Regions from separate parts of the Homo sapiens genome. Here region 1 is linked to region 2. Evidence: promoter capture Hi-C in human tissues and cell types (Jung and others, 2019). All regions are on one chromosome and are shown on one strand. The core of a region is centred on a gene start or on the middle of the fragment in contact, and the rest is flanking DNA. Distances in the headings are between cores, read along the strand shown.

Region 1 (6,761 bases), core at 2,521-5,020, 820 kb before region 2:
CTTTCAGTTTCCTGCTCTCTGTCCTTAGCATTTATCACCTTCTAACACCTCATGTGTACAGGCAGCCCCCCTTTTCTATGGGTTCTCCATCCATGGACTCAACCATGTGGATTGAAAATATTTGGGCTGGGCGTGGTGGCTCACGCCTGTAATCCCAGCACTTTGGGAGGCCTAGGCAGATGGATCACGAGGTCAGGAGATCGAGACCATCCTGGCTAACACGGTGAAACCCCATCTCTACTAAAAGTTCAAAAAATTAGCCGGGCGTGGTGGCGGGCACCTGTAGTCCCAGCTACTCGAGAGGCGGAGGCAGGAGAATGGCGTGAACCTGGGAGGCGGAGCTTGCAGTGAGCCGAGACTGCGCCACTGCACTCCAGCCTGGGCAACAGTGCAAGACTCTGTCTCAAAAAAAAAAAAAAAAAAAAAAAAAGGAAAGAAAGAAAATACTTGAAAAGAATCGCTGGAACCCAGGAGGCAGAGGTTGCAAGGAGCCAAGGTCGTGCCATGGCACTCCAGCCTGGGTGACAGAGCAAGACTCTGTCTCCAAAATAAATAAATAAATAAAAAGCAATCCTCCCATCTCAGTCCCCTCCCGAATAGGTGGGACCACAGGTGCATACCACTACACCCAGCTAATTTTAGTATTTTTTGTAGAGATGGGGTTTTGCCATGAAGCCCAGGCTGGTTTTGAACCCCTGAGCTCAAGCGATCCGCCCACCTTGGCCTCCCGAAGTGCTGGCATTACAGGCTTAAAAATAGAGACAGGGTCTTGCTGTGTTGCAAAGGCTGGTCTAGAACTTCTGAGTTCAAGCAATCCTCCCACCCCAGCCTCCTGATTACAGGCCTGCACCGCCACTACACCTAGCCAGTAACAACAATTTACATAGTATTTACATGGGACTAGCTATGATATGCAATCTAGACACGATTTAAAATATAGGGGTGGGCTGGGCACTGTGGCTTACGTCTGTAATCCCAGCACTTTGGGAGGCCGAGGCTGGCGGACCGCCTAAGGTCAGAAGTTCGAGACCAGCCTGGCCAATGTCGTGAAACCCCGTCCCTACTAAAAATATAAAAATTAGCTGGGCGTAGTGGCTCACGCCTATAATCCCAGACACTCAGGAGGCTGAGGCATGAGAATCTCTTGAACCCGGGAAGCAGAGGTTGTAGTAAGCTGAGATCATGCCACTGCACCAGCCTGGGCGACAGAGCAAGACTCTGTCTCAAAAAAAAAAAAAAAAAAAAAAAAAAAAATATATATATATATATATATATATATATATGTGGATGTGCATAGGTCATGCAAATATGATGGCATTTTTATATCAGAGACTTGAGCATCCATGGATTTTGGTATCTGTGGGAGGTCCTGGAACCAGTCCCCCACAGATATTGAAGGATGACTGTACTTATTTTGCCTGTTGACTGTTCCTTCTGCTTCCCTGGGACCCCTGAGAGCAGAGATTTTGTCTGTTTTGTTCACTGCTGCGTCCCCAGCAAATGGCGGTGTCTGAGCCACAGCAGGTGCTTACTAAATGCTGGGTGAGTGAATGAATCAAAGGCAGAGGTCTTTCCATTAAGGCCTCAGTTCCCAGGGATGAAGGTGGGACTCAGGCAGGTAGGGAAATTTCCTGGTGAATTTAGGGTCAAGTGGAATCTGCTGCCTTGGCCCCCTACAGCCCACTCCCCCTGTCTCCTGGTCACAGCTACCTAATCTTTCTCTGCTCACTCCCTTCTCCCCAGTTCCTCCTGGAGTCCACGTCCTGCCCTGGCTCTAGGCATATGGCTCAGGCGGGGCCCATCGAATGACTGCTCTGGGATGGGCAGGTGCCCTAGTGGACCCCCTGAGATACAAGGAGACTTTTCTAGTATAGGAGGCTCTTTTCCTCATGATTTGGACCCTAACAGCCGCCTGCCAGCCCATGGAACCTGAAGATGAAGGAGGGCAGAGCTGAAGCACAGAGATAGATAGGTCCTGATGCTACTGGTTGAGCCCCTTGATCTTGCCATACCTGAAGCCAACTGTATAAGTGTTTCCGTACTAGAACTAGTACCTTCCCATTTTTTTTGTGGATAAAGTGGTTTGGGTTTGGGATTCTTTCTCTTGTATCTAAAAAAGTTCCTAGAAGGCCCTCCCCTACCCCCTGAGGAGGCCCTCTCACCTAGGGCTGTACCATAGCCAGCGGTGGCCAGAGCACCAGTGTTACAGTGGGTCAGCACAGTCACCTTGCCACCGCTGGGGGCCACCCGCTCCAGGAGGTGGCGGGCTCCTAGGTCCCCAATGCTTCGGTTGTCTCTGAGGTCTTTCTCCAGCATGTCCTCGGTGCAGCAGATCACTCTGGGGTGACAAGGAGTTTTCAGCACCAGCCACCAGGACCCGGGGCCCAGGCCAACGCCTCCTCTCTGCCTAACGCTGCTGTCCTGGAGCCCTCCTGCTCAAAGCCTCTCATTGCTGTGGGGCCTGGACCCTTCGGCCAGGGCCACCGAAGTGTCACTCCGTTCATTCATGCAAAGACATGTTTACCAAGCAGTTCCGGTATGACCCAGCAGTAAACAAGACAAAAATCTCTGCTCCTGTGGAGTTGACACTGGGGTGAGTGAGCCAGCTGATGAAGAGATAATAAAATGAAGGAAAAGCCGGCAGAATCAGGCAACAGAGAGCAGCGGGTGAGCTGGATCATATAGAATGGTGGAGGAGGGCGCTATGGATACCTGGCCCGCACCAATGGCACGTGCAAAGGCTGTAAGGCAGGCTCGAGCTTGGTGGGGTAAAGTGACATTGCAGGGAGGGCTGGAGCAGAAAGGAAGTGGGGGGAAAAAGATGGCAGGAAGGGGACCAGGACAGGAAAAAAAGTTCCTCAAAAGCAGAAACCAAGAGAACACGGAGATACTAAAAAGGGCCTCCAAGGGCGGATAAGGGGCTGCGTGTATTCAGGGGAGGCACGATTAAGGAGTTAGGTTTCAGGGCCAGGCTGCCCAGGCTAGACTCTGGGCCCCATCTGTGGGGCCCTGGACAAGGGACTTAAGGTCGCCGTGCCTCAGTCTCCCCATCTGTGGGGCCCTGGACAAGGGACTTAAGGTCGCCGTGCCTCAGTTTCCCCATCTGTATAGTGGGTCACTGTACTTAAAAAGAGTCAATATAATTCCTGCTCAGCGCCGTGCCTGGTACCAGATCCCCGTACCTCTCCCGGACCGCCTCTTCCGTAGCGCCCTCCCGTTCGGCCTCCCGGGCTGCAACATCAGCCAGGTCGCGGGCGGCGCGGGCCATGTTGACAGCGGTGGGCCGGGCGGTGACGAGGAAGCTCAGCTTGTCGCGCACGAAGGCCACGAGCGCGGCGAGTCCCGGTCCCCCGGCGCCCGCCTGCAGCTCCACGGCGAGGCTGAGACAGCCCACCAGGGCTATGGCCGGGGCGCCCCGCACCTGCGGGGCAGGGATTTGGGCGTCGGAAGCTGCAGGCGCGGGCGCACTCCCACCTCCAACCCGGCCGCCCCGCCGCCCCGCCGCCCCGCCGCCCCGCCGCCCCGCCGCCCCGCCGCCCCGCCGCCCCGCCGCCCCGCCGCCCCGCTGCACCTTCATGGCGCGGATGGCCTCCCAGGCCTGGTGCACCGAGCCCACCGCCTCGTAGCGGCTCTGCTTGGGCAGCAGCAGCTGGTCTAGGATCTGCAGGGAGCCCCGCGAGTAGCGGATCGCCTCCAGGGTCATGGTGCAGCAGCCAAGCCCAGCGCAACTCAGAGGGAGCTAGGGGTCCGCGCGCACTTGGGAGCGGGGCGGGGCCGTGGGCGGAGCCTCCCCCGGAAAAAGAGACACGCACATGCGCATCCAACCCGATTCCACGGGTTCCCAGGAGGCGGATTCCACGGGTTCCCAGGAGGCGGATTCCACGGGTTCCCAGGAGGCGGATTCCACGGGTTCCCAGGAGGCGGATTCCACGGGTTCCCAGGAGGCGGATTCCACGGGTTCCCAGGACGCGGATTCCACGGGTTCCCAGGACGCGGATTCCACGTGGCCGAACCCACTCCACGACTCCTGCCAAGCCCGAACGGAGTGAGCCGCCTCCTCGGAACCACAAAAGTGGCAGCATTTATGGGACGCCTAGTGGATACCAGGCCCCGTGTTTAACAACCTGCTGTCTAGAGTTAGGGATGTATCCCCAGTGGCAAGGTAACATCAAGTGTTCAAACCAAAGAATTTGTTAAATGATCTTCCAAGGTTGAGGGGGAGGTAGTGGGGGGTCGTGTGCCCCTTGATGGATGCAAGGCTGTTTCTGGGCCATTTTCTGCTCGGTTTCATTCAAAAGTAACATGCAGGACAGGCGCTGTGGCTCACGCCTGGAATCCCAGCATTTTGGGAGGCCGAGTCGGGCAGATCACTTGAGGTCAGGAGTTCGAGACCAGCCTGGCCAACATGGTGAAACCCAGTCTCTACTAAAAATACAAAAAATTAGCTGGGCGTGGTGGCGCACACCCGTAGTCCCAGCTGCTCGGGAGGCTGAGGCAGAAGAATCACTTGAACCCAGGAGGCAGAGGTTGCAGTGAGCCGAGATCGCGCCACTGCACTCCAGCCTGGGTGACAGAGCAAGACTCGGTCTCAAAAACAAAACAAAAAAACCCCAAAAGTAACATGCACGGGGGGCTTTTCCATGGGCCACCCCTGGGCTGGGTATAATAAAAAGCTCACACCTGTGTGCTCCAGCCCCTGCTGCATCTGGCACACATCCTGGGTACCCCGTGTGCCTTGTCCCTGGCCTTGTGTGTGTGGTTCCTGGCCCCCTTTTCACCCTTCACACTTGGCCCATGCCTCCTCCTCCAGGAAGTCTGTCCTGATTCCTGGCCAACCGGGACCACCACCTTGAGACTCTTGTTACTCTGGAAGGGGACCATGTCTGTGGTCACAGCTATGACCCTATACCAGCATTTGCTGATGAGAGGCCTACCAAGCTTGGTCAAGGTGGGGGGGTGGGGGGGCAGCCCCAGGGTCCATCTAACAACCCAAGACAGGGAAGAAGAGACAGGTCTTTAATGTACGGAGTCTCACAAGGCACAAACACCCTCACCAGGACCAAATAAATAACTCCACGGTTGCAGGAAGGCGCGGTCTGGGGAGGATGCGGCATCTGAGCTCTCCCAGGGCTGGTGGGCGAGCCGGGGGTCTGCAGTCTGTGAGGGGCCTCCTGGGTGTGTCCGGGCCTCTAGAGCGGGTCCAGTCTCCAGGATGGGGATCGCTCACTCACTCTCCGAGTCGGAGTAGTCCGCCACGAGGGAGGAGCCGAGACTGCAGGGGTGCCGCGTGTCGGGGGTGTCAGCTGCCTCCTGGGAGGAGCCTGCTGGCGACAGGGGCTTGTCCTGACGGCTCCCTTCCTGCCCCCTCGGGCTGCTGCACTTGGGGGTCTCAGTTGTTTCCGGAGGACAGTCTCCGGGGGACATGGGCCGGTCCTGGGCAGCCTCCTCTGGTACCCGCGGTTCCCCAGACTTGGGGGTGTCGGCCGCATGCTGGGGGCTCTCCGGGACGTCCCGAGACCTCCGCCGCACGATGCCCAGGTCCCCGACGGTGATGGGGGAGGTGGCAAGCGCGGTTCTGCGGCTCTGTGCCAGCTTCTTCAGGACGCCGCTGACCTTGCTGCTGGAGGCGGATCCGGGGGCAGAGGGGAACCAGGAGCGGCTGATGATCTCGGTCCGCTTGAGTTTCTGCTTGTCCTCGTAGGCTAGAGGAGAGGAGAGGACATTTCAGGGGCGGCAGGGGAGGGGGTCCAGAACTGCCCTCTGGTAGACCAGAGTCCACTCATGGCTGAGGACCCCCCATCTCCAGGCAACTCTGAGCCTCCCTGTCCCCTTTTCCCCCTGGCCTCCTACGCACAGTCCAGGGTGTGGAACTTCAGCAGAGCCGCCAGCTTGCGGTCATCTTCCGTCTCGGGCACCAGCGGGATGGTCAGGCTCGCCTTGGCCTGCAAGGCCTGGTCTCTCTCCTCCTCCTCCTGGATGGCTTTTTTCTTTTCCTGTGTTGAGGGCCAAGAACACCAGAGATAGGGGGTGTCAAAGCCCTGTCTCTTCTGTGTACTAGGGGGCACTGCTCCAACTCTCGGGGTCTCATTTACTCTTTTTGAGACAGTTTCATTCTGTCGCCCAGACTGGAGTGCAGTGGCACAATCATAGCTCACTGCAGCCTCGAACTCCTGGGCTCAAGCGATTCTCTCATGTCAGCCTCCCAAGTATCCAGTACTACAGATGTGCACCACCACGCCCAGCTAATTAAAACATTTATTTTTGTAGAGACTGGGCCTGGTAGTTCATGTCTGTAATCCCAGCACTTTGGGAGGCTGAGGCGGGTGGATCCCTTGAGGCCAGTAGTTTGAGACCAGCTTGGCCATCAAGGCAAAATCCTGTCTCTATTAAAAATATAAAAATTAGCCAGGCATGGTGGCATGCGCCTATGGTCCTAGCTACTTGGGAGGCTGAGGCATGAAAATCACTTCAACCGGGGAGGTGGAGGTTGCGGTGGGCTGAGATCGTTGTCACTGCACTCCAGCCAGGGCGAAAGGGGGGAGACTGTTTCAAAAAAAAAAAAAAATTTTTTTTTGTAGAGATGGGGTCTCACTATGTTGCCCAGGCTGGTCTCCAACTCATGGCCTCAAACAATCCTCCCACCTGAGCCTCCCAAAGCACTGGGATTACAGGTGTGAGCCACCACGCACGGCCTCATCCCACAAATATTTCTGGGATACCCACCTTGTGCTAGGCTTTGTTCTGGACACTCGGCATACAGT
Region 2 (6,634 bases), core at 2,452-4,951:
GTCACCAGGTCACAGGAAGCACAGGGGCGTGGGGGAAGCATGTGCTTAGTCCTGCTTTCCGGACCTAGAACGATTCCTACGTGTTATGGACTCTGGTGCCCACAGGGAAGGGAAATGGTGGCTGCCCTAGCTCCCTCTGCCCTTGGGACCACACCTGTAAAAGCTGAGGGTTCTCCTGGCCCAGCTGCTGGAGCAGGGCGGGCAGCAGCGCAGGGTTCTGCTGAATCACCTGCCGCATGTTCTGGAACTGGGGCTGGTCCCGCAGGAACTCCAGGGGGTTCTCTCCTGCTGGTAGTAGGAAGGGGTGCAGTCAGACACCACGCCGGGCTCCTAGGAGCACTGCGGGGTGGAGTGTAATGTGAGTCAGGTACCTGGAGGGCAGATGCGGCATGTGCACACCCACCTGCTTCCGTGGCCGGCTGCTCCGATACCTGGCTCTCCTGGACAGAACCGTGTTCCGGCTCGGGGCTCCCAGGAATTCCCTGTCAGGGGTCCTGTTTAGTTCTAATGCACAGACCTCCTGCTGCCACCCTCCTCCATGCCCTGGCAGGACACAGATGAGGCCTCGGCCCTGCCCTCCAGAGGCCCACCCATCACTCACATCCAGCCTCCTGTGGGAAGCCTTTAGTGGCTAGAATCACTACCCAAAGGCTTTTCAGGGCAGGTTTTGCCTTCCCAACCGCCCATCAGGGCAGTGACGCCCGGGTACTCCCTCAAGGCCTCCCCGGGAGGCGGAAGCCCCACCTCACCGTGAGCAGATACTCCACGGCTCGGTGGGGGTTGTTGTAGCTGGCTCTCAGGGCGGCCACGACCCGCTCTCGCTCATAGCCCATGGACATGATCTCCGTCAGCATCGTCTCATACTCAGAGCCCGTCACTGTGGAGGAAGCAGCAAAGCCTAGGTCACCAGGAAGAGGAAAGGGCAGCTCCCAGGCCCTCCCGCACCCAGACAAGGCCCAGCTGATGGCTGGGGCACCCAGTCACCTCTGCCCTGGGGACCACCCACCCACCTAGCGTGGAGGCCGCGTCTTCCTCTCGCCCGCTGCTACCTGAAGAGGGAACAGAGCTGCAAATTCAAGAGAGAGAAATCGGACCCTGGCTTCTGGCGGCTTGCCCTCCCTCCAGGTGTGTGGGACCACTTATGTGGACGCTGGAATGTGCTAGGAGGACAGGGCCCAAGCTGGGACTGCTGCCCCCGCCTTACCCTGACACAGACTCTGGGGACGTCGTGGGGGCGGATTCCTCTGATGGGCTCTTGTCCTCTCTGGCGGCAGGTGGGGGATGGGACATGCCTGAGGTGGGGGCAGGCGGGAAGGATGTAGAGGACTCTGGGGCAGCTGTGGGTGAGGCCTCTGGGGGTGCTGAGGTACCCTGGCCGGCTTTGGTCTGCAACAGCAAGAAAAAGGGAGCTGGCATCAGCAACCCTATCAGACCCAACAACCCGCTCCGCTGTGGCCCCGCCCTGTTCACAGCTAATCTCTCCTGGGCACACAGGCTCTTTGCCAGCTCCCCAGCTCGTCCACCCACCCTCCCAGCCAGCACACGTCACCCACCTTGGTCACCATGACGACCACAAAGTTCTTCTCATCGATGCGATAGTCCCTGATAGGGACATCGTCACTCAAGATCTTGCCGGCATAGATGAGTTTCTGTCCAGCCACGGGGAAGGCATCACGACCCTTCTCAGCTTCTATCTTCTCCTTTAGCACCTTCACCTAGAGGGAGTGGTACAGACAGTCACTGGAGACCCCAAGATTCTCTTTTCCCTTCTAGTTTAGGACAGAGAAACTGCCAGCCCTGATGGCAGAAAGGCAAGCACGCTGGGTTTTTTAAGCTTTCTCAGCATCTAAAGCATGCTAGATTTGAATTCATTCAATCATCATGCCATTCAACACAGTATTTACTTATACTAAACACCCATTATGTGCCAGGTGCTGTTTTAGACACAGAGGCCACAGCACAGAACAAACTCAACACAAGTAAGTCCCTGCTCTCAATGAGAGAACACTAATGTGAAGAAAATGTAATTTCGGGTAGTATAAAGTATAATTAACAGAATAAAGGGGACAGTCCCCCACTCTACACTCTACCTTGGACAATAAGTGACTAATAGTTAATAGTGATATTTTTTAATTTTAAGAGGCAGGATCTCGCTGCCGCCCATGCTGGATTGATGTGGCACGATCATCGCTGACTGCAGCCTCAAACTCCTGGGCTCAACTGGTACTCTTGTCCAGCCTTGGGAGTAGCTAGGACTAAAGGTACACACCACCACTCCAGACTAATTAAAAATAATTTTTTTTTGTAGATAAGAGTCTCCCTATGTTAGACTGGCTGGTCTCAAACTCCTGGCCTCAAGCAATCCTCCTGCCTCTGCCTCCCAAATCATCAGGATTAGAGGCATGAGCCACCGTGCCTGGCCAATAGTGCTACTGTAAATGTATATGTGTCATACCTTTTAAGTTTCCTATGAAATACGTTTAATTGGTCTCATTTTATTTATTGATTTTTGTTTCTTTTTTTTGTAGAGAACGGGGTCTCACTGTGTTGCCAGGATGATCTCGAATTCCTAGGCTCAAGGGCTCCTCTTCCCTCTGCCTCCCTAAGTGCTGGGATTACAGGCGGAAGCCAGCAGGCGACCGGTTCATTTGATATTTGAGAAAACGGAGGCACAGACAGGTAGGCAGGTTAACTTGCCCAAAGCCAAACACTTGAGCGGATCAAAAAATGTGTGTTTCCTTTTCTACAAAAAGTGGACTTCAATGTCTCCCTCACTATGCAAAAAGCGCCAAGTACCCAATAGACATTCAGTATGTTTGAATTAGGTCCTAATTCTACTTTTGACTAAAAAGGCAGCATAATATTTATATCGTGGACGCTCACACGAGGCAGAACCGAATTTGAATCCCAGCTCTGCCATTACTTGTGTGTGACTGTGGCAAAGTTCCTCAATCCCTAGGTTTCCACATCTGTAAAATGATCAGAGGTCCCCAATGACAAGCCCGTTTTGCAGAGCGGTAAAACAACACTACAACACTCGGTGACTGATAAAAAGTAAACGGCCAACAAACACGGACCACCAAAATTATAAAGACTGAGACCCGTTTATTATCATTAACATCGTTGTTGTCGTCACTACTCAGTATCTCCTGGTCATTACTCCTAGATTCGACCACCAGTGTCCCAAGGAGACGCCTGCAAAGCTGGGAACGTGGAGCCCAGTCTTGGAGAGCTTGGCCTGCCCAGGAATCCGAGCTTGTGACTCCCGCGCCCCGCGAGAGCGCTGACATTGGAGCCGGGGCCTGGCCAGCGCCCCGGGGGTGGGGCCTCGCCCGGAGACCGGCGCAGGAGCGCCGCCCGATCGGCTGGGGGCTGGGCCAAAGACCATCGGGGGGTCCAGGAAAGTCGGGCAGGTCGGGGGTCTGGGCAGGGCCGACCCGCGCCGTCCTCCCTGCCCCTCCCGTTGGGATTCTAGCCTCCCCGCCCCCACCCCACCCCCGAAACCCGTCGCTCCCGCCCCCGGGCTCCGGCCCGGCCCGCACCGTCTCGTCAGGCTCCATGCGGATCTTGAAGGTCTGCTGCTGCAGCGTTTTGAGCGTGATGGTGACGGCCATGGCGGGGCCCGAGCGACGCGGCGGCCCCGGGATCCTCACACAACATGCAACTCACGCCGCCGCCATCTTAGCGCCCAGGCGCGCCGCGCCGCGCGCCGACCACTTCCGGGGCAGGCAATGCGCGCGCTGACCACCGGCGCACGTGACCTGCGCACTCCCTCCTTGGCCTTTGTGGGCATGCGCACGAGCGCGTTCTCGAGCGAGGCACGCGCAGACTAAACTCCGCGCTGTGGGCGGGGCTTCTTGCTCGGCCCGCACACGTGGTCTCCTGAGTGACGCCATGCCCGTTATCGGTGACGTCACGGGGCTGCAAAGTGACTCTGGTGTCCCCACTCTCACGCTCAAATGAATTTTTAACAAAGTTTTTATGTACCTGTACTGGTTACAGACATTTGTATTTCTTCTGTAAAAACCTCATTTTGCCTCTTCCAAATGAGAATTTTTTCTTTCAAACAGTCTCTGTCACCCAGGCTGGAGTGCAGTGGCGCGATCTCGGCTCACTGCAGCTTCCGCCTTCCGGGTTCATGCAATTCTCCTGCCTCAGCCTCCCGAGTAACTGGGATTACAGGCACCCCCCACCACGCCCGGATAATTTTTTGTATTGGGTTTCACCGTGTTGGCCAGGCTGGTCTCAAAACTCCTGACCTCAGGTGATCCACCCGCCTCGGCCTCCCAAAGTGCTGGGATTACAGGCGTGAACCACCGTACCCGGCCCCCAAATGAGTTTTATTCTGGTCTGGGTATCCTGGCAGGAACCCTTGTAGAGCAGTCAAAGTGAAAGTTACTCAAAACTAGAAATACCTGAAAGGCCACCAAGCACAGAAAAAAAACCTTAAGTTGGAAGCGGGGGCAAGGTGCCATTTTGTAGCCTCATTCATTCTTTAGGGATCTGGAGTTTTGGAATGAACCTACAATTTTCATTCTTGGGTCTCCGGGCAGGAGTACTTTGTTGTACTATACCTAATCTGACCCCAGAAGTATTTAAAGATGTTAACTTTCAAAGCCTCACTACATTAAATACAGAATTCTCCCTTGGATCTACCAGTCCTGGAGGCATCCCAGAGGGGTTGGGCTGAGCCACAGGACCCCAAAGGAATAGAAGCATGAAAAAGGCCAGTTTAAGGGGCAGGGTGAACCAGATTGAGCCACTGTACGCCAGCCTGGACAACAGAGCGAGAGTCTATCTTAAAAATAAATAAATAAGCAGAACCAAAACTTACCAGTTAGGTTCAAGGATTCAGTAAGTTAGTATGTGGAGTATTTACAGCAGCAACAGCCATTCCCCCGTTGGTTTTGAGGGTTATGGGGTAAATAAGGGTCCCTGGAATCTTGTGGAACACTCAGCAACCTCTCTAGCAATAGCTGAAAAAGGAGATATACTGGAAACCCCCCCCCCCCCCAAAAAGACCACTGCTGGGTTTCCTTAAGTCTGTCTTTCCCCAGAAGGAGACACAGGAGGGAGACACAAAATTTAATTTAATAGAAATTTTGTTTGTAGTTCTTACATTCTCAGTGTGAGCCAATCTGGGACCCACTGCCCCACCCAGAAGTGGCCCAGTCCTGGGGGCAGGGGAGAAAGGGAGGGGTGAAATGAGAAGAGCCCCGTTCTTCCTCAGTGCTGGGGGGTTGGAGACACCACCCCCTTCTGCTGCCCTCCTCTGGGCTCCAGGAAGGAGAGCAGATGAAATCTCAGGCCTGTGGCTTCTCCACACCACTGCCCCCCAGGTTGGAGGGGAGCTAAGAGATGAGAGAAGGGGACAGAGGCAAGAAAAGATGTTGATCAAGAAAGATGAGAACCAGGGGTGAGGGCTGAAGGAGAATCAAAGATAAAATACCAGTTTAAAAAAAAAAAAAAAAAAGGGCGGGGAGGGGGTGGGGGAGAGTGGAGGAGGGGAACAAAACCAAAATCCACCCCAAATCCGAACCAGCCTGGAAAAAAATGAAAGTTCTCGAGTCTCACAGAGACATTATTTGGCGCGGCCAGCTCTGCGGCAGGAGCGCTCAGGCCTCAGTCCAGCCCTGGAGGCAGGCCTCTCTACAGCTCGTCCTTGGCCTGGCCGGGGACATCTTCCTCCTCATCTTCCTCCTTGTCCTCCTCATCCTCCTCATCCTCATCTTTGTCCTCATCATCCTCCTTGTCCTCTGCCTCCTCCTCCTCTTTGCGTTTCTTGTCTTCTTCCTCCTCCTTAAGCCTCTGCTCCTCGTCCTGTTTGTCCTTCATTTGTTTCTCTGCTGCCTGCAGGCAGAGCACACACCTCAGGGCCTTGCCCCCTGCCAGCCCTGCCCGCCCCCGACATCAGGACCAGGACCAGGCCTCACCTTTGTTACGCCCCACGTCTCGTTGCCAAACTCCTCAGCGTATGCCTCATCGTTGGTGATGAGGAAGTTGTCAAAGATGGTGCCAGACTTGACCTGGAGGATGAATGGGAAGGATGGTCAGAGGTGATACCCGATAGCCCTTGCTTTGGACAGGGTTTCCACCTGTGTTCCTATAACCACTATATTCTGCTGCCTGCATCTGCAGAGAAGACAAGGAACACCGCTGACACTGCAGTTAAAAAGATGGAGAGGCCAGGTGAGGTGGATCACGCCTGTAATCCTCGCCCAGAGGCCAAGGTGGGCGGATCACGAGGTCAGGAGATCGAGACCACCCTGGCTAACACGGTGAAACCCCGTCTCTACTAAAAATACAAAAAATCAGCCAGGCGTGGTGGCAAGTGCCTGTAGTCCCAGCTATTTGGGAGGCTGAGACAGGAGAATGATGTGAACCCAGGAGGCGGAGCTTGCAGTGAGCCAAGATCGTGCCACTGCACTCCAGCCTGGGTGACAGAGTGAGACTCCATCTCCAAAAAAAAAAAAAAAAAAAAAAAAGATGGAAAGATGGAGAGACAGCCAGGGACGGGACGGGCTCATGCCTGTAATCCCAGCACTTTGGGAGGTCATGGCGAACGGATCACTTGAGGCCAGGAGTTCGAGACCAACCTGGGCAACATAGTGAAACTCTGTCTCTACTAAAAAAA

Evidence for each region. The method cuts DNA at HindIII sites, captures the fragments that hold promoters and counts their contacts. A contact is called where the count stands out against the background at its distance.
Region 1: the fragment with the promoter of MRI1 here is called in contact with the fragment with the promoter of RAD23A in region 2 in 1 of the 25 tissues and cell types used here (spleen).

The regions. Positions count from the first base shown.
Region 1 is chr19:13,761,531-13,768,291 of GRCh38, reverse strand. It overlaps MRI1 (methylthioribose-1-phosphate isomerase 1), which reads right to left and starts at 3,770. Exons shown (of 6, transcript NM_001031727.4): 1 at 3,572-3,770; 2 at 3,183-3,421; 3 at 2,163-2,338. The coding sequence starts at 3,703. YJU2B (YJU2 splicing factor homolog B) reads right to left here. Exons shown (of 10, transcript NM_030818.4): 9 at 5,855-5,993; 10 at 5,003-5,702. The coding sequence ends at 5,224. RefSeq lists enhancers at 1,944-2,573, 5,043-5,559 and a silencer at 3,351-3,400. The HindIII fragment of the contact is 13,832 bases long and covers 1-6,369 here.
Region 2 is chr19:12,942,929-12,949,562 of GRCh38, reverse strand. RAD23A (RAD23 nucleotide excision repair protein A) reads right to left here and starts at 3,701. Exons shown (of 9, transcript NM_005053.4): 1 at 3,543-3,701; 2 at 1,554-1,715; 3 at 1,205-1,386; 4 at 1,011-1,066; 5 at 750-877; 6 at 404-482; 7 at 155-288. The coding sequence starts at 3,614. It overlaps CALR (calreticulin), which reads right to left. Exons shown (of 9, transcript NM_004343.4): 8 at 5,934-6,026; 9 at 5,074-5,850. The coding sequence ends at 5,650. RefSeq lists enhancers at 1,085-2,284, 3,600-3,819, 3,231-3,923 and silencers at 2,914-3,208, 3,180-3,239, 3,260-3,449, 3,460-3,539. The HindIII fragment of the contact is 31,996 bases long and covers 1-6,634 here.